Linked DNA regions of Homo sapiens: all the other regions are linked to region 1. The links are contacts of gene promoters, found by promoter capture Hi-C in human tissues and cell types (Jung and others, 2019). All regions are on one chromosome and are shown on one strand. Each heading gives the region's core, a stretch centred on a gene start or on the middle of the fragment in contact. The rest is flanking DNA. Distances are from core to core; before and after follow the strand shown.

Region 1 (6,763 bases), core at 2,490-4,989:
CCTGCCTTGCATACTGGGTGTTATTAGCCCTTCTTCACAGGTGAGGAAACCAGAGCTCACAGAGCGTGGATGTGTTGAGACCGGTGCTTGACCCAATTCATCGGACTAGCACTGGAGGTGTCCTCCTCTTCCTGCCCTGCCATGATACCGCACTGCCTCCTGAGTCTGTTCCCCTGTGCTCTTGAAGCTACGGTAGACAGCATTTATTCCCTTCCTGTTCTTCATGTTCCTTGTCTGAGACAGCACCACACTAAGTCCCTCTGAATCTGACTGCAAAACCTGAAGTGGGTCTAAAATGGACCATGCTCCAGTGCTCAGCTTTTTCAAGACGTCTGTATTTCTGGTTATAGCTAATGTTATAGCTCCATCCAAACCTGGTGGGTGCTGTAGTTTACTGAGTACTATGAGTGCTTTATTTCATAGGCTTTACTACCTTCTCTCTAACTCAGGGGTTACAGGTCAGTAAGAGTCCCCTCAAAAGACAAGGGCTGGCCGGGCGTGGTGGCTCACGCCTGTAATCCCAGCACTTTGGGAGGCCGAAGTGGGTGGGTCACGAGGTCAGGAGTTCGAGACCAGCCTGGCCAATATGGTGAAACCCCCGTCTCTACTAAGAATAAACAATTAGCTGGGCGTGGTGGCGTGTGCCTGTAATCCCAGCTACTCGGGAGGCTGAGGCAGGAGAATCGCTTGGGCCCGGGAGGCGGAGGTTGCAGTGGACCAAGATCGCACCACTGCACTCCAGCCTGGGCAACAGAGCAAGACTCCATCTCAAAAAAAAAAACCAAAAAAAAAAACAACAAAAAAAACCAGACAAGGGCCCAGGGATACCGTTAAGTCATTTCTAAGATGGGTACTTTATCCTCTGGTAGAGGGCTCCTTAGAGCGAGGTTGTGATGAGGAGGCAGTCAAGCCCCCGAGTTGATCAATCCCTTCAGGCGAGTTGTTCTTTGATCATGGCCATCCAGTCCAAGCACACTGAAACGGCACACATTTGTGTGCTACTCAAACGGAGAGGGTCTCTGGTTTTCATCAAATTCTCAAAGGGGGTCATGGCCCTCCAAATCTTTAGGAACCATGGATTCTAGTCCAAGTTCTTCGTCAAATAGGTAGAATCTGAGATGCAGCATAAGGCTTGCAAGGACTTGCCCATCATCAACACAGCAAGTAGCTGCAGAGCCAAACTTGAACTCAGGTCTCTTAATTCCCAGAATAGCACACAGTGGAAACACCTCATCAAACATTTTGAGTGCCTGCTATATTCCAGACCCTAGGCTGGTGCTGCTGAGGTAACGATAGTCATCATGCAAAATCGGGAGTCAGCTGTGACAGTACTTTACAACAACTTTCATGTTGCTTTTACGTTATGGCCCAGGCAATATTCGCAGGGTACTCCACCATAAAAAGATGAGGCTGCTTGCATCCAGAGGAGCCTGGCCTGCCTGGCCACTCTGAAGGCCCCAAAGACTCACCATTGGGCACCCCTATAAACCATTCTCAACAGACAGGGACGCTTTAAGCGATGGCCTTCCCATGGTAGGGAAAGTTCTCCCCTACCATCTTCGTGCCTTTCGTCTCCTGCCACAACAAAAAGGCTTACACGTTTCAACACCGTCTCTCATCTCCCAGGTACCTGGCAGCCAGAATTCCTACTCTTCCTCAAAAATTCAGTGCTTGACTCTATGTTCCCACGATCTAAGCTCCAAATTCCTCCTCCACTCCACCTCACTACCCACTAATGCTTATCCTTAACAGCACCTAAAGCTTCTCCAACTTTAAATCCTCCTTTTCGTTTCTGACACTCTTATTCTGTTCTCAGATTCTTCTTTTTAAATTTCTTTTCTTTTTCTTATTTAATTTTAGAGACAGAGTCTTGCTCTGTCACCCAGGCTGCAGTGCAGCGGCAGGATAGAGCTCACTGCAGTCCCAAACTCCTGGACTCAAGCAATTCTCCAGCCTCAGCCTCAGCCTCCCAAGTAGCGACAACTAAAAGCCTGCACCACCAGGTATAGCTAATTCAGATCCTTCCTTCCAACCTTTTGTCTCTTACTCCTGGCTGTCCTCCAAGGCCACCACTTTCCCTGCAATCCTGAACTATTGATGCATTCTTTTGATTCTCCCTTGAGTAAAAGTCTTTTTTGAAAGGTCTCATGCTGGGCCGGGCATGGTGGCTCATGCTTGTAATTTCAGTACTTTGCGAGGTTGGGGTGGGAGGACTGCTTGAGACTAGGAGTTCAAGACCAACCTGGCCAACAGAGACTCCATCTCTGAAAAAAAAAAAAAACAAAAAACAAGAAAGGTCTCATGCTATTCAGCTATGTTACTGTTTAGCCCTCCATTTTGCAATTGTCTTAACTAATCGTATAGTCCTCCCCACATTCACCAAAGATTTTAGCTCCTGATGCTCCTTTCCTTTCCTACCTCTAAATCCCAACATCTAATTTTCCTGCCTTCTCACTTCCACTTCAGCCACTCTATTCCGTGGCTCTGTCCTGGACTTTTTTTTTTTTTTTTTGAGACAGAGTCTCACTCTGTTGCCCAGGCTGGAGTGCAGTGGCACAATCTTGGCTCACTGCAACCTCTGCCTCCCGGGTTCAAGCGATTCTACTGCCCCAGCCTCCCGAGTAGCTGGGATTACAGGCATGCACCACCACGCCCGGCTAATTTCTGTATTTTTAGTAGAGACGGGGTTTCACCATGTTGGCCAGGCTGGTCTTGAGCTCTAGACTTCAGGTGATTCACCCTCCTCGGCCTCCCAAAGTGCTGGGATTACAGGCGTGAGCCACCACGCCCGGCCTGTCCTGGACTTTTCTCATCTCCTAGTGCTACTTCACTATGAACCTGTTTGCCACTTTAACCACCAAGCTCTCACAACATTGCCTGCACTGCACTGGCCTTCAATTATCAGAGACCTGCAGTTTCGTGGCTCCTCCATCAGTCCCTAGCCAGTCTGTATCCCACGTTTGATGGCCTGGGCTGTCGTCTCATAGCACCCTCAATTTATTTTGGGCAATGCAATCCCAAGCCCTGGATAAATGCTATAATTCAAAATATCTGCTACTGCAGCCTGGTGGCTGAGTTCTAGAAAAAAGTGATCCATCAACACATACATGAGGCACATGAAACCAGGCCTTCCAACTTCAGCGTCCTCTTCCAAAGTTTCTTTGCTCTTCTTGGTCTCCTTCCTTGTCTCATAACTTCACCCATAAAATCGATGTCATCAAACGATCTCCCTGATTTTCTTCCCCCCTATATATCTGCACGCATGTTCTTGTTTCCTACCGTTTTAGTGGAATAACAGGTGACCTGCCTCTAGTCTAAATTTAATCCGTTTTCCTGAGTTCTGCATCGCATGCAGAGCATCCTACCTCCCCAGGGACCTCTCCACTGACTCCTTTCTCCCAGCCTCTCCTTTCTTTACAAACCTAAGGACCAACAAACCCCCTCTCTCGACCCTCTCATTGCCAAGCTTCTCCAGAGTAGTCTGCATTCGTTGTGTCATCCTTTTCGGTGCCCTGCCAAGGACGTGGAATATGACAGGGCTCAGTCAGTGCTTAATAAATCTCGAGCCTCAAAAATACCCGGTAAAAAGAAACCCGGCTCTCCGCTTCCCCCAGAGTCCAGCAACCCCCTCCGCTTTCATTCACCCACTTTCCTACCCTCGGCTCCGCCTTTTGCCGCGCCTCCCGCGATTCTCGCGAGACTTGGTGATTCCGTTCCGCACCGCCCCGGTTGAGCCGCGCACTTCTCGCGAGGTTGCAGGCAGTGCCGGGCCAGACATGGCGGAAGGTAGGGTTTTTTTGTGGAGCCGCGCGGGAAGACACGGAGCTGTGGGGGCGCTGCTGGCCGTGCGAAGCTGCCGTGGGAGGGGAAGGCCGGGCGTGGTTGCATGGGGGCTCCGCGGGTCTCGCGAGCCTTCCTGTCTAGCCTCTCCGGAGCTTCTCGGGCCGGGGTCCGGAGCGCGGTTCCTATGACAACGTCCCTCCCGCGATGCCGACCCCGCGGGACTGCGGCCGGCTGCGGAGCCGGGCTGGCAGGTCCCGCGCCGGTGCTGCGTGCAGCCGCGGGGCCCCGAGGGCAGCACGGGAGGCTCTTGATTGCCGGCGGTGCCGGGACGCCGGGGGAAGTAAGCCTTCTCCTTAGGAAATCGAAACTGCTGTCCTGGCACGTTCTGCATCCGGAAGGGGTCCATCCCTCGCTTGCGGAAGAGCGTGGGTCTCCTCGGGCTGGGTTGGGGTGAGGTGGGGTGGGGTGGGGGCGAGGCAGCAGCGAGCTGGCCCACGCTTCAGGCGGGCGCACTGGCGGCTCCGGCTCTGCTGCAACCCCAGCCTTCAGGCCAGGCGTACAGATGAAGACGGGAGGAAGGGGTTTGCGGGAAGGGAGTTGGCCAAGGTCACACTGCTCACAAGAGGGCTGCTCAAACCAGACCTCTGTGCCTTTGCCTCCCCGTCCAGTGCCTACCCTCTGGTCTCGTGCACTTTTCATGACATTGCAGCTTAAGGCACTCTGGTCTCTCAGAGTCTGCCTGTCTTAATGTAGCAGTAATTAGAAGCCTTCATTGTCAAAGCCTTATTGTACACGTAGGGGGAAAGAAGGCCCAGAGACGGGGAGTTACCTGTCAGGAATCGTGCAGGGACATTGTTGGATCTGGGCAGCCTGGTTCTCCTCTTCACCCCATTATTGGAGAACAGTATTCCTTATTTGACCTTTGTTTATTGAGTGACTGCAGTGTGCTTGGCCACGACCTTTCCTGTTGGTTTTGAGCTTTGACTGAACCCATCACTTGATGGATCTTAGATTTGGGCAGCACCTGACAGTTGGTCGGCTTTTCTCATTTGCATTAGACTTCAGATAACCTCGTGAAGGAGGCCTGGCGTGTGTATTTGCCTTTATTGATAAAGGAATTTAGGCAAAGTTACAGAGATAGCTGTGACTGACACCCAGTTGGTTTTGGGGGGTGTGTGTGTGTGTTTTGAGATAGGGTCTCGCTCTGTCCCACCGGCTGGAGTACAGTGGCGCGGTCACGGCTCACTGTAGCTTCAGTCTCCTGGGCTCAAGCGATCCTTCTGCCTCAGCCTCCTGAGTAGCTGGGACCAGGGGCGCTCGCCACCACACCCGGCTAATTAAAAAGGGGTGTGTGTGTGTGTAGACAAGGTCTTGGCCCCGTGTGGTGGCTCGCGCTAGTAATTTCAGCACTTTGGGAGGCCGAGGTGGGAGGATCGCTTGAGGCCAGGAGTTCAAGAGCAGCCTGGGCAACATGGCGAAACCTCGTATCTACAAAAAATACGAAAGTTAGCCAGGTGTGGTGGCACGTGTCTGTAATTCCAGGTACTCGGGAGGATGAGGCACAAGAATCGCTTGAACCCGGAAAACGGAGGTTACAGTGAGCTGAGATCGTGCTACTGCACTCCAGCCTGGAGTGAATGGAGTGATGGCGGGTGCCTGTGGTCCTCGCAGTAATACTAGGGAGGTGGGAGGATCATTTGAATCCGGGAGGCGGAGGTTGCAGTGAACTGCACCAGCCTGGGCGACAGAGTAAGATCCTGTCTTAAAAAAGAGAGAGACTAGGTCACACTATGTCACCCAGGCTGGTCTCCCAACTCTTGGGCTCAAGCAATCCATCCGCTTTGGCCTCTCTAAGTGCTGGGGTTGCAGGTATGAGCCATCGCGCCCGGCAGGCACCCAGTTTTTGTCTTTACTTTTTCTACCATATCCCTGGAGGGGGAAACTTTAGGTGAATATTGCCTGAAGGCAGAGGAGTAAGAAAAGGAGCAAAAACCCAAGGGATTCCCTGAAGTTGCTTTTTGAGTAAATCACGGAATGTTGTACACAGCAGACAGCTGTTGCTCACAGGAGTGAGGCGGGTAGAAAGGTTCAGGAAGGTCTTCTGTGAGGTAAGGGGTAGTCTGGCGCTTTTGCACTTAGGAAGGTAAGTTCGGTGTTTTGGGAATACATTAGCAAGGTTGAGATTGTGGAGGGCTGCTGGTTTTTCATTCAGCAGCTTTACTGAGCACCTGCTGTGCTTTGCAGTCGGGTTCCAGCCCTGAGGAGCTCATACAGGCTGAGTCAGCATACTCATCATCCGGCAAGCGCCTTGAGAGACATCTCGCCAGTGGGGTGTCTCTCCATAAACACACGAAGAAGACATCCTTTCAGGGTTAAATTAGCAGGGGGATAGCTAGGTAAGCAGTCATGAAGTTCTGACTTCACAGTCTTTCTTTCCTTCCCTTCCCCTTTCCTTTTGAGGGAGTCTCGCTCTGTTGCCCAGGCGGGAGTGCAATAGCGCAATCTTGGCTCACCACAGCCTCCACCTCCTGGGTTCAAGCGATTCTTCCACCTCAGCATCCCAAGTAGCTGGGATTACAGGCACCCGCCATCATACCCGGCTAATTTTTGTAGAGATGGGGTTTCACTGTGTTGGCTAGGCTGGTCTTGAACTCCCAACCTCAGCTGATCTGCCGGCCTCGGCCTCCCAAAGTGCTGGGATTGCCGGTGTGAGCCACCACACCCGGCCGGCCACAGTTTTTCTTTTACCTCTTTTGTGTCCCAACTTTTTGTTGGGATTTAAGCTTTTTAGAAACGATGTTGCAGACTTCAACTAGGAGGCATTCTGGGTCATTTAGCTTATTAATCTGAAGGTGCTTGCTATGCAAAGGAAGGCAAGATTAGGTAGAAAATGTTTCTTGGGATATTAATACTACTGCTTGTGCTTTAATCAGATTCTCAGAGCCTGCTATGCTTGTTTGGAGACAGTTATTTAAATATA
Region 2 (6,763 bases), core at 1,628-4,127, 58 kb before region 1:
TGTGGATTTTTCTAATTATTTTCTCAAGAAATCATTTAACTGGCTGGACATGGTGGCTCATGCCTGTGATCCCAGCATTTTGGGAGGCTGAGTTGGGAGGATCACTTGAATCCAGCAGTTTGAGACCAGCCTGGACAATATAGTGAGACCCCTATCTCACTTTATAAATAAAGCAATTGTTTCACTTATTTCCACATCCCCTAGATTTCCTGCAAACTGTAGCAGTACTATCTAATAGAAACATGGGAACCACACATGAAAGCCTAATGTGTGATTTTAAAATTGTAACCACATTTAGAAATGTAAAAAGATAGGTAAAATTCATTTTAATAATTCATTTAACTCAATATACCCAAAATATAATTTCAAGATGGAATCAGCATAACTTTTTTCTCACAAAGTCTTCAAAAATCCAGTTTATATTTTACATTTGCAGCACATGTTAAGTAAGACTAGCCACTTCTTAGGTGCTCAGTAGCCACATGCGACTAGTGGCTATTATATTAGAAAGTGCAGGTCTAACCTAAGAAGCTTGATTTGATTCAGTGTAAACATTTTGGGGGAGGGGCAAGAGTATGTCATAGATGAAGCTTGTGTATACCATTTTGCATCAAATAAGAAGATACACATTCTTGGGTTAATGGTTCTAAATTCGAACAATTATTTGGTGATTGCCAGATTTCTCCGTTGCGAAGATGCATTATCTCTTTTTACTGGTGAGTAATCTGTGGGGTGATGCTTGGGCATCATATTCTGTTCTCCAGTGACCTTTTCACTTAATGGTTTTAGCATCCATTGATCATCCTTGCCTGGATTATTACATTAAGGGTTGCAAATGAAATGCTCTAAATATATCTATGTAACAAATTTCCACCCCTTTCTTCCATTATATAAAGCATTAAAAATACTAGTTACTGGCCAGGTGCAGTGGCTCACACCTGTAATCCCAGGACTTTGGGAGGCCGAGGTGGGCAGATTGCTTGAGCCCACTTCGAGACCATGATGCCCATGGTGAAACCCTGCCTCTACAAAAAATATAAAAATGAATTGGGCATGGTGCCATGTACCTATAGACCCAGCTACTCAGGAGGCTCGGGAGGATTGCCTGAGTCCAGGAGGTCAAGGCTTTAGTGAACTGTGATTGTGCCACTGCACTCCAGCCTGGGCGACAAAGCTGTTCTCTCAGCCCAGTCTCCTTAGTAAGATCTAATAATTTTTCCTTTGGGAGATGACTTTCTCTAAACTTTGGAGGTCAGCAATAAATTGAAAGGGACTAGTTTCTTATCTGATTAATTCATTTTCATTTTGATGAATTCGTATGCCTTCTTAGGTTCTTCCTTAAAATCCTTAATTAAAGGAGTTTTGTCTTCATCATCATCCTGCATCAGAAACGGCATCAGTAATTGATATTTAATCTCATAGGTTGTGATGAGTCCTTACTTTTGTTTTACAGGTTGCTCTTAAGTATTGTTGGGTTTTCAGAGTATATCAGCAAAGGCTTTAGCTTAACATCGCTCAATTTTTTAAATATAAAAGCAATGTTAGCCTGACACGTTTTCTTTTTAAATTTCTTACCAAAGCACAAGATGGCATTCTTTAAGAAAGGTCTATTTTTGTCAGTTATAAATTTGCTTTCCAATATTTCTCCTTTATTAATAGTTTTCTGCAATTCATTGGGGGAAAGTTTGTTGCAGTCTCGCTATCAGCAGAAGCTAATTTATTTATCAGTGATATTTAATGTTATGCATTTATGTACTGTTCTTAAACCTCTCAAACAATTCAGGGCTTGCTTTGCAACTGAGCTGCTCACCAAATTCTCCTGTTTCTCTCCTTTCACCTCCATCACTTCGGAGATATGAAATGCACATTGCTGTTGCCACAGTGCTCGGTGGTTCCATGCTGCTGGTGGTTATACATTTTTGTATGAAGTATTACCGTAACTGTTAGACATCAACATTGCCTTCCATTTGTATTTCTGTTGCATAGAAACAGTCTTATGTGTGATACAGGGGATATACTTAAAGTCAGGGGCTCAGCTTTTGGTTCCCTTGCCTTTAAATAAATGCATTACTTCCAATTTTTTCTTTCAGTGTTTGTACTTTCCTAGGCCTCTTACATAGGTTCACCTGTATTTTCCCAGGACACCCCATTTTCTTAGAAGCCATTTTTACTTAATGTGGAGAAGATCATGTACAAGATGCCTTTCAGTAGAAGTTATATTTCATGCACAACATTTCTGATCATGCAGCAGGGCTCTCTTCTTTTGCTAATGTGATTATAAGGAGAAGAAGCACATACAAATAAATAGTTATTTGAATTAGAGAAATATAATCTCCTAATGCCATCTTAGGGAAGAGTTTGAGGAGGAGTTCAAGGCATGATAGGAAGATACAACAGAGGGTGAGTTAGTGTCAGCAGATCACAGCTACTTTGACATAATCACACCTGTTGTTCCCCTTTGGAAGAAATCTTGGATTGGACCTGGCATGGTCTGCTGCTTACATTATTCTTTCTTTCTTATGTCAAGAAGTGGGTGGAGACTACTTAGAGGAATGAGGAATCAACACCATCTTAATATGTGTTTGTGAGTAGAACATCTTGTATTTGTATTACCTGTTCCAGTTTTTAACTTTGTGCATTTTATGTGAATCCACTTCTTATACTTCCATTAAAAGTAGTTTAATACTTGGTCATATGTTAGAAACCTGTCATTCAGATTGTTGCATTTCAAAATGTAGACAAAGCTGTCATTCTGACTTGTTTGGCTTTTGAGTTTCATACCACACTTAGTCCAATCAAAATATAAAAAAGAAAAATTATGTTGCTAATTTTCAAATTTCAAACTTTTGCTTTAATTATAATAAACTTTATAGACACACATTTGAATCGCACACTAATAGCCTAGGAAAATTAGGGGTTTAAATGTAAATATTGCCTTCATCCCTTAGACTCTAAGTAATAGCAACAAACATTGGGCAAATTGGCTGGGTTCACCTGTAATCCCGGCACTTGGGTGGGCAGGGTTGGGGGGCGAGCTCAGGAGTTCAAGACCAGTCTGGGCAACGTAGGAAGACCTTGTCTCTACCAAAAATACAAAAAAAAGACAGACATGGTGGTTTGTGCCTGTGGTCCCAGCTACTCAGGAGGCTGAGGTGGGAGGATTGCTTGAGCCCAGGAGGCGGAGGTTGCAGTGAGCCATGAACACACTACTGCGCTCCAGCCTGGGCCACAGAGTGAAACTCTGTCTCCAAAAAAAGAAAGAAGGCCACAATGCTTAAAAAGCCCATCCAAATAATCAGAAAAAAGAGAATCACTCAATGTAAAAAAAACGGGGTGGGGGAATAAAAATATGTAAATGCACCAAAGATAAATTGCCAGTGGCAGAAGGATGCCCAGTGTTAGCCAGCAGTAAAAGTACCCAGTGTTAGCAAGGCTGTAGGGAAATAGTTGCCTACAGTGTTTCTGGGATAATACATTGAAGTAAACATTTTGTGGCTTGATATATATGTTCCTTTGACTTACAGTTCAGTTTATAGTTTATATTCTAGATATACTTCCACAGATGTACAAGGAGAGTGCAAAGTATTCTTTTTAAATTAATTTTTTTTTAAGATGGGGTCTTCCTCTATTGTTCAGGCTGGAGTGCCATGGTGCGATCATAGCTCACTGCAGCCTCAGACTCTCCTGGGCTCAAGAGATTTTCCCTCTTCATCCCCCAGAACAGTTGGGGCTACAGGTTCACACCGCCTGGCAATGGCAGCATTGTTTTTTCTTTTTATTTATTTTTAAAAAGACTTTTAAATATTCATAATTTCTTTTTTTTACTTTTTGTTTTTTTCACTCCTCTCAGCTCATACCTAGGCAGCATTATTTATATTTGAGGGGGAAAACGAAAAGAGGTATGGTGGTGGGAACGAGTTATCTAGTGTTCAGACTATGCTAAGTGGCCATCAGTTATACAAGGATGATTCCATTTCTGTATAGTATATGGTGGTGTAGCCTAAGTCTGAAAGAATACACAGCAAATTGTTAGCAGTGGTTGTCTTTGGAGAGCAAGAAGGTAGTGTCTAATGCCTTCTATTTTATTTTCCTATGTTACTTTAGGATACATGGCCTTTTTTCATAATTTAAAAAATCAAAGTACATAAAAGAAAGTTGAAAATATTCTACTACTTAGTAATAACAACCACCACCTACAGATGTCTCCCAACGTTGGGCATCCTTGCATCCACCTTTCAGTGCATGCATGCGGGCTGAAATCTGAGGTTGTAATAGATGTGCCATTTATATACTTTAAGTTGCAAGTTGCATATGAATGACAACCCAGCTAAGGTAATATTGAAGAAATTATTGACCTATAGATAGACATTTATCGCAAGAAGAGATTAATTTCTAAAAGAGTCCTAAAGTTGAGAGAAGAAAATCTATAAAAACCTCTAAATAGTTTTGAGACTCTTGATAGAACCCACTGACTTCCTGATGTCCAGGATGAGGGAATAAACACATATGTATTCCTTAGTACCTCTCTCCCTTTCCCTCCATTCCCTTCCCATTTTCTAATCATAAATATAGATATATTTAGTAATTGGTTATTCTTTTTTAACATAGAAATCCTGATAATGTAAAATTACGACAATACAGAAAATAACAATGTAAAATCCTGACAATGTAAATTTATATATAAATCCTGATAATGTAAAAATAGGACCAATGGCAACAAGAAAATAATACACACACACACACACGTGTGCCACTTGGCAATGACAGCATATATTATTAAATATATATATATAAAAGCTTATAGCATTCATGGTGGTTTGGTTTTATTTATGCATTTACATGGGGTTGGTAACTACACTGGTCCCTTTCACCTGCGTTTTTCTGTTACTGAATTCTTTATTTTGATTGATTTCGCAGCATTTAATTCAAAAAGTACCATTTCTTAAGTCCTTAAAGTTTACAATACATGTAAATGTGTATTACCATCTTATTTGGACTTCCTGTTTGGGCTTCTCTCTCTCTCTTTTTTTTTTTTCGACACAGGTGCCTAGGCTGGAGTGCAGCAGCATGCTTACAGCTCACTGCAGCCTCGACCTCCTGGGCTCAAGTGATCTGCCCACCTTAGCCTCCTGAGTGGCTGGCACCACAGGCGCTTGCCGCCATGTCCAGCTAATTTTTGTATTTTTTGTAGAGGTGGTGTCTCCCTGTGTTGTCCAGGCTGGTCTTGAACTCCTGGGTTCAAGCATCTACTTGCCTGGGCCTCCCAAAGTGCTGAGATTACAGGCATGAGCCACCATGCCTGGCTGCATTTCTCATTCTTTTTATCACATTCTTCTTCAGGATTCCGTATTTCTTCACGTCACTGTTACTTACCTACAATGAGTATTGTGGAGAAATCTGAGGCTAACCTGGTTGGTTCCACCCACCCACCTATACTGGACTTGTTTTTTCCCTTCCTGAATATCCTTGATATTATTTAACTTTAAAGTTCAGTGCCTCATTTGACAGATGTTTTATTGTTTATTCTGTACCAGTTTTTTCTGAGTTGTGGGATATGTTTTCAATCTGTATATTTATTATTATAGAAAGCTTTATAGATTTATGACATTTTAATATTCTGATCTCTTCAGGAATGCCAGTTTAACTTATGTAAATCTCCTTTGTTTATTATCTTTACTCTTTAAAAATAACTATTTATCTTTTCATTAGAAGTATGATTTCTGAAAGTTATGACCATGATTTGTTTTTAGTCTGTTTTTCACTTTCCTTTAAGGTCTCCTGTTGCTTTATAATGTTTTCTTTCTGGTCTTCTTTAAAAATATGTTTCTGTAATTTCTTTGAGACTGTTTTTCTGAAGTCTTTCTGGTTTTTTATATGTATTATTTGGTGGTTGAAATGAACTTAAAGTGAATTGGAAATTCAAGAATCTCATGACTGTGCTTGCTTCCTTCAGCAGCAGCATGCTTACGACTCACTGCAGCCTGAGAATCACTTTTTTGCCCCGTATAATGTGGGGAAGGTAAAAGGACAGTTGAGAACCACTGGTGTATTCGAGGGGAAACTGATTAGGGACCAACTGGGATGTGAACTTAAAAATAGGGCTTTACACATGAAGAAGGTGGCATTCTTAGTTGGAAGTGACAGGAATTCAACTAAAATAAATTTAGACAAAAAGGAAAACTGACTTCTAACTAAGTTTATAGAAGGGCAGGAGTAGTACCAGGTGTAAGAAATCAAAGATCTGTTTGGATTTCTTGTTGCTTATTCTTCGTTTTGGCTTCATTCTCCTTGAGACTTGAATTGCGGCTATTGGCAGCTCTCAGGCCTTTATGGCACAGCTTCCCAACTCTGAAAAACCACTCCCTCCTGTGGCCTTGGGGTACCGGGGGCCTTGTTTGGCAGTCCTACTAGAAACATAGTTGGGCGTGAGGTTTGAAGCTGGGTAGTATTTTCCAAAAGAAATAATTCAGGTATGGGCTTGTTCTCAGGATTCTGAAGAATACAGACGTATTCCTTTTATGTCCTGTAGCCTAATTAATGAGCAATTTTAAAGGAAGAAAATGGACAACTAACATTTATTGTACCTTAAGCTGGGTCAGACTTTCGCATATACAATATCTTCTCCGTGTTGCAACGTTACCAAGGGCTTTACCATCCTTTACTGATAAGGAAAATGAGACTCAAAAAATAGAAATGATCTGTTTAAGTTGCCCAGGCTAGTAATACATAATATCATATGCTGTGCCCAAATTTTCCATTGTGA
Region 3 (6,763 bases), core at 1,859-4,358, 39 kb before region 1:
AGGCGTGTGGATCACCTGTGGTCAGGAGTTCAAGACCAGCCTGGCCAACATGGTGAAACCCTGTCTCTACTAAAAATACAAAAATTAGCTGGGCATGGTGGCGGGCGCCTGTAGTCCCAGCTGCTCAGGAGGCTGAGGCAGGAGAATCGCTTGAATCCGGGAGGTGGAGGTTGCAGTGAGCCAAAATTACGCTACTGCACTCCAGCCTGGTGACAGAGCGAGACTCCGTCTCAAAAAAGAAAACAAAACCGTCTCTGGTCTTTGGTGTACATTTTTAAAAGTGTTGGCTGTTGAATTGAGATGTGAATCACAGCAATATTTCTGGCAGCTCTGCTGGAGTGTGTATATGCTGCTGAGAATACTGGTGGTCACTTCTGGACTGTGCCTTCCTGAGATCACTAGCCTTTGCTCAGGAAAGAGAGAGCATATTCCTAGGGCAGGACCTGAGAAAGGCAAAGGAAGGTACAGGGGAATGAAGAAAGGTTTGTTAGAAGTAAGCCTTTTAGAATGCTACCAAGAACCATGTACTTCATAGAATGCTTAAAAAATATTTGTTGTCGGCCGGGCGTAGTGGCTCACGAGGCCGAGGTGGGCAGGATCACCTGAGGTCGAGAGTTGGAGACCAGCCTGACCAACATGGAGAAACCCTGTCTCTACTAAAAATACAAAAAATTTAGCCAGGTGAGGTGGCATATGCCTGTAATCCCAGCTACTCGGGAGGCTGAGGCAGGAGAATCGCTTGAATCCAGGAGGCAGAGGTTGCAGTGAGCCGGGATCGTGTCACCCACTCCAGCCTGGGCAACAAGAGCAGAACTCTATCTAAAAAAAAAAAAAAAAAAGTTCTTAAAAAACTTCTTAGCAGAAAGTAGTGAGGTTCTTGTAATTATTTCAGTGGAATGGAGAGAGTAGAGGCCATCTTGGAATTGTTTGAAGAGCACTATTGGAAGTGAATATATACACCTTACGTTTAAATAACTGCCTGTGAAGGGAAGTAGAGGCTTGTGCTGGGGGGAGGGGTGTTATAGGATTGAAAATAAATTAGTATAGGCTCAGATGGTACCCAGACCTAAGTGATTAATTCACCACTTTATAATTAGATAATAGAAATACTGTACCAAAATTCTGTAAAAGCTGCTGTGATTATCTCTCTGTGCCATCATTAGCCCTCATGTAGTCACTAGAGGGCGCTCCACTCTCTTTTCAGTCTATGTGATTGATAACCGGTACCGTTCAAGGATTACTTTGAGACTCCTATAGTTGCCACAAGTCTTAATTCAGTCATACTCATATTTATATAGCATTACATTTTTATTTTTATTAATGAGTCTTTCCAGTGCAGTAGTCCCTAAGGCCTTTCTATGAAATGTACATTCTGAAACTGGTGTGGTATACCAACTGTTTTCAGACTGATTATCAAACAGTATGGATAACCACTCATATCCACAGAAATTAAAATTTCAGGTAGAAGTGGCAATAGGTTTGTAGTACGGAAGTTTAGGGTGGATACAGTGGCTCACGTCTATAATCCCTACACTTTGGGAGGCCAAGGGTGGATCGCTTGAGCTCAGACGTTGGAGACCAGCTTCGGCTACATGGCAAAACCCTGTCTCTACAAAAAAAAATACAAAAATAAGTCAAGCATGGTGATGCATGCCTGCAGTCAGGAGGCTGAGCCCAGGAGGTGGAGGCTGCAGTGAGCCAAGATTACGCTACTGCACTCTAGCTTGGGCAACAGAGCTAGACCCTGTCTTAAACAAACAAACAAAACCAGAAAGTCTAAGAAACCTGGATATCACTGTATCATTATAACATTTTATAAATTATTAATGAATGATGACTGTATAACTTTTATCTCTCTTTTCCTTTCATCACCAGTGGCTGGTCTGTTCAAGGAGTATGTCTTATTTATTTATTTTGTTTTTAAGCACTGGCAATGATATGAAAAATCTGGAGAATCTTAAGATTATGTGTTTTGTAGTATTGCCTTGGGTAGATATAGAAAATGAAGAATCAGTTAACCAAAACTCTGAATTACATTCTTTTACAGTTGCAAAATTCTATTCCAGTTATAAATTATTTTCCAGTCCTGTGTGAGACATAGAGGCAGAAGCCATCTCTTCTGTAATGAAGTTCTGGAGGGAATGAACCTAGTGCCTACATTGCTTGGAAATGGAATGATCAGTGGTAATGCCATGCGGTTTATCACGTAGTGTTCAAGAACATGGACTTTGGGGACTGCCTTTGGTTAGCTCTCTAACTCTACCACTCTTCTTAGTTGAGTGACTTTGAACAATTACTTAAATTTGGTCTTAGCAGTTTCATTTCTAGGGTAAAAACCCTATGCTTAGGAAATGTTTCAAATGTTCCATGTTCTATTGCTTATAATAGCAAAAAAAAAATTATTTTTTCCCCTTTTGCAGTTTTATTATTTATTTTTGTAAATGTCAATTATAATTCGAAGGACACTTTGTAGTTACTAATTAGACTATATGAAAAACTGTACAGACTGTTTGTACTATAATTTGTGTCCCTAAGAGATTAGGGGACTCAGTAACAGAAAAATCAACTCAGAAGGGTCACTGCTCAGCAGTCCACATAACCACATAGTAGAGCCCAAGCTACTGGTTGTGAGTAGAAAGAGACTTCATACAAATATCTTCACATGTCTTCTAGCATTATGCCCCTACCAGGAAAGGGAATGTCTGTCACAATTTTTTTTTTTTCTGCTGTAAGATAAAGAAAAGGCTGTATCCCTTAGACACATACTTAATGAAGACAATCTCAAAAGAAGCTCCTGTGTTTTTCTGTTTTCACTGTTCTTTTCTGAAGTTCACCTGGATGTTCCAGAGCAGTTTTCTAAACCTTTCATTGTTGGTTGGCCTTTTGTAGAATTCTTCAGCAACACACAATACAGAAGACACAGGCTAAAATAGTTCTCACAAATACACTTTGAAATAGGTGTATTTGGATATAAATACAACTTGCCATTCCATTATTTTTTTTCTCATGACTAAACTCTAAATTTTTAAAAATGGAGATTTTCAAACCAGTGATGTGCAAAAGCCCATTCTCATGACACAGTCATTTAAACTTATTAAGTATGGGAAAATTTTATTTCTTCCCTTTGTCTTGTGGAATAATTTAGGTTCTCACCCTGGGCATGATTCACAAAATAGAGTAAGACCACAGATAAAAGTCACATAGAATCACAGGCAATGAAGAAAACTTCTAAAAACAAATATCCCCCAGTGTCCAGTATCATCCATCCCAGCAGTGATGGAAATGATGGCCACCCCAAGATTCTGAATGGAGTGCGTGAAGCCATATGCAGTTCCCAGTTGATGTTCAGGAACTACAGATGCCACTGTTGGCCAAAATGCACAGGCAAGCGATGAATAGGAGATTCCCAGAAGACACAGCAACCCAAGGGCTCCACATCATAAAGGCCAGCATCATGTGGGACACAAGAGTGGCTGCAACCACACGCAGAACCCAGATGCTGTTCTTCCCCGTGTCATCCACTGGGAGCCCAAATACTGGGGTGTGGGAGCTGATAACGACATATACAACACTGTTCATTGCACTTGCTGCCTGGAAAGAAAATCCAAATTTGTCTGTAAAGAAAACTTTCCCAAGTCCAATAAAAGGGAACATGGCAACACAATAGCAGACACAGATGATAAATATGAGCCACAGGGGTAAGGAGAAATCCTTTACATCAGTTAATGTAAAAACTTCCCCCCCCTTTTTTTGTTGTTGTTGTTCTTTATGAAGGATTCTCTCTGCTCTCGCATCTAAGTAAGCAAGAGCCAAGGAAGGCACAGATTAGTGAAAGAATACATTTTATACCCCCAATCTTAAGTGTGACCCCAGGGGTTGTGTGACCAGCAGAACCCCACGAAGCTTCAATCTTAGAATACAGCCAACTCACGAAGTTCATGTTTACCGTACTTCCAATTCTAGCCATGCTAAATTGTTGGAGTCCAGACACCAGGTTTAATTCTTTGTCTTTAAACCAGCTGACAGCATATGTCCTGGGCAACTGCTGAGCACTCCCCACCAATCCAAACACAAGTCTTTCAAATTCCATCAGCCAAAAAACATTAAATATTCCACCCAGAACAAAACAACCTGTCCAGTGCAAATAAAACAGCTAAAAGTAATTGTGCCCCATCATATTCCAAATACTCGGTCTTTTAAAAAGCCACCAAAGAAACACAAAACTACATTGGGCCAAGAATACCAGGCATATAGCAGCATGAATTTCATGGTGTTCACCTGCCTGTTCCGTTTATCCTGAGTCTGAAGGGCAGCAGGATTATTATAGCAAAAATAGCTGCTGAAGCCAAGGAAACACATCAATAACAGCATCAAAAGTCATAGCCAGGTGACTGGAGGCCACAGAAGGGCCAGCAGCACCCATGCTTTCTCATCCTTCTCCTCCATTGCGCCCGTGGGAGGCTGAGAGGCAAAAGGGGTGACAACTCCAGGACCTGGCAGAAAAGCAGTGCCCACGGAGCACAGCCAAGTCAGTGATCACATGACTATGTGATTCTGACTATCATAGAATAATAGTGAACTGTGGCGGATAGAATGAATGGACAAGAGACAGCTACAACAGGACTATAGATTAATAGAACAATGTTGAGCAAATTGCAGACGGCAGCATACAGCACATTATTTACATAAAATAAATATGGCAGTATGGTAGGATTTGATCCTTGTAAGATTTTTATAATTTAACTCAAAAACAGTAATGGAGGCCTCATGGAAAAAAATTGAACTAGGCCTGGGTTTTTAAACACTTTCAAATGTGAAACTGCTGGTTACATATCTCTCTCTCTCTTTTTTTTTTGTTTGAAAACAGAGTCTGACTCTGTTGCTCACTGCAACCTCCGCCGCCTGGGTTCAAGTGATTCTCCTACCTCAGCTTCCTGAGTAGCTGGGATTATGGGCACCTGTCACCATGCCTGGCTAATTTTTGTAGTTTTTAGTAGAGATGGGATTTCACCATCTCGGCCATGCTGGTCTTGAACTCCTGACCTCATGATCTACCCGCCTCAGCCTCCCAAAGTGCTGGGATTACAGGTGTGAGCCACCGTGCCCGGCCTACATACCTCTTTTTAATATCATGATAGTACTTATACTATAGCATCTGTGATGAAGATAATATGTAATGAAAGATATTTTGAATTAATTGGTGCCTTTTTAAATTTTATTTTATTTATTTATTTATTATTATTATTTTTGGAGACAGAGTCTTGCTTTGTGGCCCAGGCTGGAGTGCAGTGGCACAATCTTGGCTCATTGCAACCTCTGCCTCCCAGGCTCAAGCCATTCTCCTGCTTCAGCCTCCTGAGTAGATGGGATTACAGGCACCTGCCACCACGCCTGGCTAATTTTTGCATTTTTAGTAGAGACGGCGTTTCACCATATTGGTCAGGTTGTTTTCGAACTCCTGACCTCAAGTGATCCGCCCGCCTCAGCCTCCCAAAGTGCTGGGATTACAGGCGTGAGCCACCTTGCCTGGCCACAGTCACATCTTTCTATATTTGAAAAATAGTGGATATGTGACATGTTAATGTGTAGTCTACAGTGTTATTCTACTCTATGGGTTTTGGGCTTTCTCTTTGCTAACTTGGCTGCTCGGTAGAAGTTTGCACGCACAAGTTGGGTACTAGTTAGTTAAGCATCAAAAAAAAAAAGCAGGTAGGCCAGGTGCGGTGGCTCAGAAGGTCAGGAGTTCAAGACCAGCCTGGCCAACATAGTGAAACCCCGTCTCTACTAAAGATACAAAAATTAGCGGGACGTGGTGGTGTGCGCTTGTAATCCTAGGTACTTGGGAGGCTGAGGCAGGAGAATCTCTTCAACCCGGGAGGCAGAGCTTGCAGTGAGCCGAGATCACGCCACTGCACTCCAGCCTGGGCGACAGAGCAAGACTCCATCTCCAAAAAAAAAAAAAAAACTAAAAAAAGGAAAAGAGGGGAGGGGCAGGTAGAATTTCCACAGGTAAAATAGAAGAAGAGGGGTCCACAGATAGGAGAAAAACTCAGAAATGCTATGGTTGCTTCAGAGTGGGCAAGGCCATTTTCAGATAGAGTGAAAATTGTGTGCTTTAAATTTTTAGGGCTACTCTTTTAGTTGAATTTGGTTGACATTTTAGAGATTGAAAACAATTTAGAGGGTCTAAGTCAGTTTTTCATGATGAGGATTCCAGTCAGCTATTATGAAGCTTTTTAGTGAATGTAACCAATCAAAAGTAAGTGACGTGGGAAAGCTGACTTAATGTTGTCAAGGAATCAAGTGGCAAGTGGCTGCCAGTAGAATCAAGTGCAGGGGCTTTGTGGCAGTGGCTTTGATGTCCTTTTACATTGACTCTTTTTTTGTTGTTGTTGAGACAGAGTCTCACTCTGGCACCCACGCTGGAGTGCAGTGGCACAATCTTGGCTCACTGCACCCTCCACCTCCCAGGTTCCAACAATTCTCCTACCTCAGCCTCCCAAGTAGCTGGGATTACAGGTGCACGCCACCATGTTTGGCTGTTTTCTGTAATTGTGGCTTTCAAACCCATAATTAGAAATACTTTACATCATGACGCAGTGCATACATATGTATATATAGATTAGTGAATAAAACACATACATAGATTATATAACTGAAACTACTTGTGATAAACTCTGTTTTCTATTTTTGTTAACAAAAAAACTTTGATAGTGACTCATTAAATTGCTTTTGCAGCCCTGTTTGAAAAACTAGTCCATGT
Region 4 (6,763 bases), core at 1,539-4,038, 34 kb after region 1:
AAATTACATCAAGGAATAAAAAGCCAATTTTAACATTGAATTAAAAAATTTTGCTTTACACTGAAATTTTTTAGTACATCCAAACGTTTAGAGCTTTAATTCAGTGCTGTCTGGCCTTAATTCAGTGCTGTCTGGCCACAAGATTGCATCACTGTGAGTCAGGAAGTTTTCTCGAGTTCAGGAAAATAGAATATTAATGTCTTTAAATGTCTCTAGACTCTCCTCCAGTTGTAAATAATAAGCGTGTTTTGATTCTACTATAAGGTTTGCTTTCAGGAGTGATCCGCTTCAAAGTAAATGGTTTTTGTGGCTTTCACAGATCAAGCACCTGTGAAGATAGCAGATAGGAGAACATGTGGCATTTTTACTTTTTATGACATTTTAATGAAATGTATCTTTGAAATGTGTTATGGGGGAGAGGTCCAAGGTGGTAGTGGCATGTGTGGGCCTGTTCCTGTTGAATTGTGTGCTTTGCCCAGCAGTCCTGCTCATTGCCTAAACCTGGGCTTGCAGTTGCTGAGACTGCCTGGGAAGCCTGTGTGTTATGTGATACCTGGAAGCACTGACACTTCATGGCAGCAATTTGAGGAAGATTGGAAATAGGTTCTTGTAAACAGGTGTATAAATAGCATAAAAGCTGTATTTTAAAGGCTCAAATGTTTTCCACACCAACAGGCTTGATAAAATCATTTAATGAATTTATTGGTGTTTTGTTTTTTCAACATTAATCCATTCATATAAAAAACATTGAGTGGTAAGCGCTTTTCAAGGTGTTAGGGATACAAAGTGTACAAAATTAAATTCTTGCTTGCATAAACTTACATCTTAGAATGTAAGAAAAACTCCACATTTTTCTTTTTGATGTTCTTGTCTAATTGATATTTCTTTCTTTCTTTTTTTTTTTTTTTTAAACAGGATTTCACTCTGTCACCCAGGCTAGAGTGCCATGGTGCAATCACGGCTCACTGCAGCCTTGACCTCCTGGCCTCAGGTGATCCTCCCACCTCAGCCTCCTGAGTATCTGGGACCACAGGTGTGTGCTACCATGCCTGTCTCATTTTTTATAGACATGAGATTTTGCCATGTTGCCCAGGCTGGTCTTGAACTCCTGGACTCAAGGAATCCTCCTGCCTTGGTCTCCCAAAGGCCTGTTGGGATTACAGGTGTGAGGCACTGCACACAGCCTTGATTATGAGAATTTTAGCATATGTTGATGAAATACAACAGGCATTATATACACTTTAAAGGTGTTTGGATATATGAATCATACCTTGTTCAAAAAAGTGAAATGTTTGTACCTGATATGATCCACTGATGAAGGCACAATCACTTCTGTAGGATTCTTTTTTTGTTTTTGAGATAGGGTCTCACTGTGTCGCCCAGGCTGGAATGCAGTGACACTATCGCGGCTCACTGAAGCCTTGAACTCCTGGGCTCAAGAGATCCTCCCACCTCAGCCTCTCAAGTAGCTGGGAGTACAGGTGTTCACCACCATCCCTGGCTAATTGTTTAATAGAGATGGGCTCTTGCTGTGTTGCCAAGGCTGGTCTCAAACTCCTGGGCTCAGATGATCCTCCTGCCTTGGCTACCCAAAGTGTTGGAATTTCAGGCATGAGCCACTCTGCCTGGCTCTTGTATAGGATTTTTGCCATTAATGCATAACCTCAATCTACTCATGAGAAAACATCAGACCCAAATTGAGGGACATTTCTCAAAATAATCAGCCAGAGTGTTTCTCAAACATGTCAAGGTTATGAAAAACAAGAATGGTTTAGGAAGTATTACAGATTGGGTGAGACTAACACTGAATGCAGTGTAGAATCCTCAGTTGGATTCTGGCCATAAAAAGGGTATTACTGGTAAAATTGGCAAAATAGGGCCTATAATTAGTTAATGGTATTGGTATTGTATGTATTACGTAGTTACCTAATTTTGATCATTGTACTATGGTTATATAAGCTGTATTAATAATAGGGGAAGATGAGTAAAGGGCATATGGGGATGCTCTGCAGCTTTTCTCAAAGTATGAAAGTATCTGAAAATGTAAACAAAGTAGAAATTTGCTTTTTTATTTCTTACTAAGGTATCTTTAAATATATGAAGTGATATGTTAATTAGCTTATAACCATTTCATAGTGCATACATATATCAAAACATGTCATACATTAACTCTATATAATTTTTGTCTGTTAAACCCTAATAAAAAAGAATAAAAGATAAAAGTTTATAAAGATACTGATTGACCAAGTGGGAAGAGAAAGAATATGACTGTTAGCTCAGCAAAGCATAACAAATCTGAGTCCACAAGGAAAGTATTATATTTACTTCTTGGTGAAGTAAAGCAATTTGCTTCTAGCAAAATGATCTGTTTATGGCCTCTCTGTAGCACTTTACCAGTAGCAGCTGACACGATGAGAGGTTCCAATGGATTAGAATGGCTGTTTTGAAGCTAGAGTTTGTTGCATACTTTCTCAAGCAAAGATCTTACAGTTCCTTGGCATAAGGGCTCAGGGTATGAGTCATTCAGCTCTCCTGGAATGTGTCCTGGATAGTGTCAAGCCATTCCAAACAGCAGAAAACATCCTCCTTTATTCCTTTTCACTCTGGTTGGGAAAGCTATCCCCTGAAGCACCATCTGGAAAGCTTGCACTCTGCAGTGGAAAGGGCATAGTTTCCCAAACTGTGTACTCGGGGAGCTGTGTGCTATTTAAATTTTTAAGAGAAGCACAGCAATATTCAACATCTGTTGGCTACTGTGTGAACTACTAGGTTAAGGCTGTTCAGTTTCAGTATTAAATCATACTGTGTTCCTTCGATGACATCCACGGGAAGTTTAGAATATGCTCACAAAAAGGAGTAAAAAAGAATATGCTCACAAATTCTTTGCTATTTCTCCCTGCAAAGGTGGATTCAAATTCTCCTCTTCAGTATAGGCTGATTCACCTCTAATGAATGGAGTGTGGTAGAAGTGGCAGCATGTGACTTGAGAGATGGCTTCATCGAAGGCACTGTGGCTTCTTCCTAGCTCTCTCTTTTGGATTGCTCATTTTGGGGGAACGTTAGCGGCCATGTCATGAGGACACTCAAACAGCCTTGTGGCCTCCTGCCAGCAGCTGAGTCCCATGCCCAAAGATTCTCTCAGAGCTCAAAATAATCTATTTTATCTGCGGTTATATTCTTTACTTAATCCTCATACTGCTTTTGGGTTTTTCTCACCAATCTTTGGTTATGTTAAGTTTGTGTTTGTGTTGGCTTATTGCAGATTTGGTTTAGGTTCATTGTTCTTTTAATTTTTATTTATATTTAGCCAATTCAATAATTTCTTTTTATCTGTATTAAATCTTTCTTTGAAATTCCTTTGAATTATTTTTTCTTTTTGAGTTGAATTACTATCTTTTATCTCATTTTCTTTTTTTTTTTTGAGACAGAGCCTCACTCTGTCACCCAGGCTGGAGTGCAGTGGTGTGATCTCAGCTCACTGCAACCTCCACCTCCTGGGCTCAAGTGATTCTCCTGCTTCAGCCTCCTGAGTAGCTGGGATTACAGGTGCCCGCCACCACGCCTGGCTAATTTTTGTATTTTTAGTAGAGATGGGGTTTTGCCACGTTGGCCATGCCGGTCTTGAACTCCTGACCTCAGGTGATCCACCCACTGCGGCCCCCCAAAGTGCTGGGATCACAGGTGTGAGCCACCATGCCTGGCCTCATTTTCTAATAAGGTTAAGACTATGACTTTTTTTTATAGTATGAATCTGACTACATTGCAAATATTTTGGTAGGTACTGTTTTCATTGTGATCAATTTCTAAATAGTCTATTGTAATAATAGCAAGTTTTTACATAGCAGTTACTATGTGGTGGTGGTGTTTTGAGTGCTTTATTATGTATTAACTCCACACAGTTAGCAAGGATTGGAGCCGGGATTTGAACCCTAGGTAGTTTGGCTGCAGAATTCGTGCCATTAACCACAGTGCCGTGCTGCCTGTCAGTTTGGTTTCTTTTTCCTCCAAATTGAGGTGTAATGGAAGTACAGTAAACTGCCCACATTAAAAGTGTGCAATTGGATAAGTTTTGACATACGAATACACCTGTGAAGCCACTGCCACAATCAACATAAACATTTCTATCCTTGCTGGGTGTGGTGGCTCACGCCTGTAATTCCAGCACTTTGGGAGGCCAAGTTGGGTGGATCACTTGAGGTCAGGAGTTTGAGACCAGCCTAGCTAACATGGCGAAACCCCATCTCTACTAAAAATACAAAAAATTAGCCGAGCATGGTGGCACATGCCTATAATCTCAGCTACTTGGGAGGCTGAGGTAGGAGATTGCTTGAACCTGGGAGGCAGAGGTTGCAGTGAGCCGAGATCGCGTCATTGCACTCCCGTCTGGACGACAGAGTGAGACTCTGTCTCAAGAAAAAAAAAAAAAACTAACAAAAAACATTTCCATCCTTAAAGCTTTCCTCATGTCTCTTTGCAATCCATCCCTTTTGCCATCCACTTCTGCAGCTAAATGCTGATCTGCTTTCAGTCATTATAGATTAGTTTGCAGTTTCTAGGCTTTTATAGAAGTGCAATCATAGAGCATAGAGTCCCTTTTGTCTGGCTTCTTTCACTTCTTTTAGCATATAGATTTTGACATTCACCCCACACCTTAGTATGTTGCTTTGTGTTTTAATTATTCATTCCTTGTTATTGAATAGTATTCCATTGTATGAAAATACCACACTTTTTTTTTGCATTTACCTGTTGATGGACATTTGTGTTCTTTCTGGGTTTTATTAGCAAGAAAATTACCTGTATTCAGTTGTGTAAGGCCTTTGTGTAGACATGTTTTTATATCTCTTGAGTAAATATCTAGGAGGGACTGTTTAATGTTAAGAAACTACCAAACTGTCTTGCAAAATGGATGTACCATTTTACATTCCCATTAGCCGTGGATATGAGAGCTCCAGGTGCTTCACATCCTGACTAACGCTTGATATAGGCAGGTTGTTTTGGTTTTTGTTTACAATTTTAGCCATTCTAATGGATACAGAGTGCATGGCAGTTTTATTTTGCATTCCCCTGATAATAATGCTGAACCTTCTTTGTGTGTTATTGACAATTTTATATTTTCTTATAAAGTATTCACATCTTTGGCCTTTTCAAAATGTGGCATTGTATTGAGTTTTGAGTATTGAGTATTAACAGTTCTGTATATAATTTAGATACAAGTCATTTGTCTGAAAGCAAGCATCCTTTGTTCTTGATCTCAGGGAGAAACAATGAGATCTTTTATCATTTTGTATAGATTAGTTGTAGGTTTTTCTTGGATACGCTTTATCAATTTGAGTATTCCTGGTTTTCTAGATAAGTTACCTGAATTGGTTTTTGAATTTTGCCAAACACTTTCTTTGACATCTATAGAAATGATTATATAATTTTTGATGAATTACAGATGTTAAACTAAGATTGCATTCCTGCTGTAAAAACCTGTTTGGTCATTATATATTACCCTTTTTTATGTATGTTGTTGGATCCTATTTGCCAATATTTTGTTAAAAATTTTACAACAGTAATCATGAGGGATATTGGTATGTAATTTTTTTTAATGTCTCTATCAGATTTTACTATTAGGGTTATATAGGCCTTATATGATCCTTCATTGTCTGTTTTCTGAAAATGTTTTCTAAGATTGATGTTATTGCTTATTTCTTGAATGTTTGATAGAATTCACCACTGAAGTAATCTAAGTCCAGAATTTGCTTTTTGGGAAGCTTTTTGAAAACAAATTTTTAAAATATGTATTTTGTATAGATATAGGTCTATTCAGATTTGTTTCTTCTGTGTCAGGTTTGGGAAGTTTTGTTTTTCAGAAATATGTCTATTTAAGTTGTTGAATTTGTTACTATGAATTTGTTTGTAGTTTTCTCCTTTTAATGTCTGTAGCAATAACTCCTTTTTCATTCTTGGGTATTGGTGATTTATGTTCTCACTCTTTTTTTCTTGATAAGTCTATAGAAGTTTGGCATTTTTATTATCTTCTCAAAGAATGAGCTTTGGCTTTGTTAATTTTCTCTGTTGGTTGTTTTCTATTTTATTGATTTCTTTTTTTTTTTTTTTGAGATGGAGTCTCGTTGTGTCGCCCAGGCTGGAGTGCAGTGGCGCTATCTCAGCTCACTGCAACCTCTGCCTCCCAGGTTCAAGCAACTCTGCAGCCTCAGCCTCCTGAGTAGCTGGGATTGCAGGCATGCGCCACCACGCCCAGCTATATTTTATTGATTTCTGTCCTTTTTTTCTTTCTTTGGATTACTTTGCTCTCCCGTTCTCCTTTTTTCTCCCTAGTTTCTCAAAGTTGTGGAACCTGAGATAATTTATTTTAGATCTTTTCTAATACAAGTATTTAAAGCTTTGAATTTCCTTCTAGCTGCGTCCTGTGAATTTTTTAGTAGCTGGGACTATAAGCGCATGCCACCACACTTGACTAATTAAAAAAAATGTTTTTTTGTAGAGACAGGGTCTCACTGTGTTGCCCTGGCTGGTCTCAAACTCTTAGCCTCAAATTATCTTCCCACCTCGGCCTCCCAAAGCTCTGGATTCACAGGCGATATCCACTATGCATAGCCTAGTTCTATCAATTCCTTAAAGGAGAGTGGTAACATCTATAATTTTAGAATTGTCTAGTTCTCCTTTTAATTTTTGTCAGTTTTTCTGCATATAATTTTTAGCCTCTATTATGTACATTTACATTTATAATTATGACTTCCTAAGGAATTGTTGCTTT

The links. Contacts are between HindIII fragments. The study calls those that stand out against the background at their distance.
Region 2: a fragment that was not itself captured here is called in contact with the fragment with the promoter of ANKFY1 in region 1 in 6 of the 25 tissues and cell types used here (aorta, bladder, heart left ventricle and 3 more).
Region 3: a fragment that was not itself captured here is called in contact with the fragment with the promoter of ANKFY1 in region 1 in 4 of the 25 tissues and cell types used here (H1 embryonic stem cells, IMR-90 fibroblasts, bladder and 1 more).
Region 4: a contact is called between a fragment that was not itself captured here and the fragment with the promoter of ANKFY1 in region 1, in 7 of the 25 tissues and cell types used here (IMR-90 fibroblasts, bladder, dorsolateral prefrontal cortex and 4 more).

What each region holds. Positions count from the first base shown.
Region 1 is chr17:4,260,955-4,267,717 of GRCh38, reverse strand. It overlaps ANKFY1 (ankyrin repeat and FYVE domain containing 1), which reads left to right and starts at 3,739. Exons shown (of 25, transcript NM_001330063.2): 1 at 3,739-3,786. The coding sequence starts at 3,777. RefSeq lists an enhancer at 3,553-3,642 and a silencer at 4,293-4,442. The HindIII fragment of the contact is 4,200 bases long and covers 2,615-6,763 here.
Region 2 is chr17:4,317,996-4,324,758 of GRCh38, reverse strand. All of the region lies in intron 1 of UBE2G1 (ubiquitin conjugating enzyme E2 G1), which reads left to right. Among named protein-coding and RNA genes, the nearest start is that of UBE2G1, 45 kb to the left of the region's middle. The HindIII fragment of the contact is 4,632 bases long and covers 562-5,193 here.
Region 3 is chr17:4,299,030-4,305,792 of GRCh38, reverse strand. The region is part of intron 2 of UBE2G1 (ubiquitin conjugating enzyme E2 G1); the gene reads left to right. It also overlaps the pseudogene MFSD1P1. Among named protein-coding and RNA genes, the nearest start is that of ANKFY1, 38 kb to the right of the region's middle. The HindIII fragment of the contact is 3,920 bases long and covers 1,149-5,068 here.
Region 4 is chr17:4,226,082-4,232,844 of GRCh38, reverse strand. The region is part of intron 3 of ANKFY1 (ankyrin repeat and FYVE domain containing 1); the gene reads left to right. Among named protein-coding and RNA genes, the nearest start is that of ANKFY1, 35 kb to the left of the region's middle. The HindIII fragment of the contact is 6,569 bases long and covers 1-6,072 here.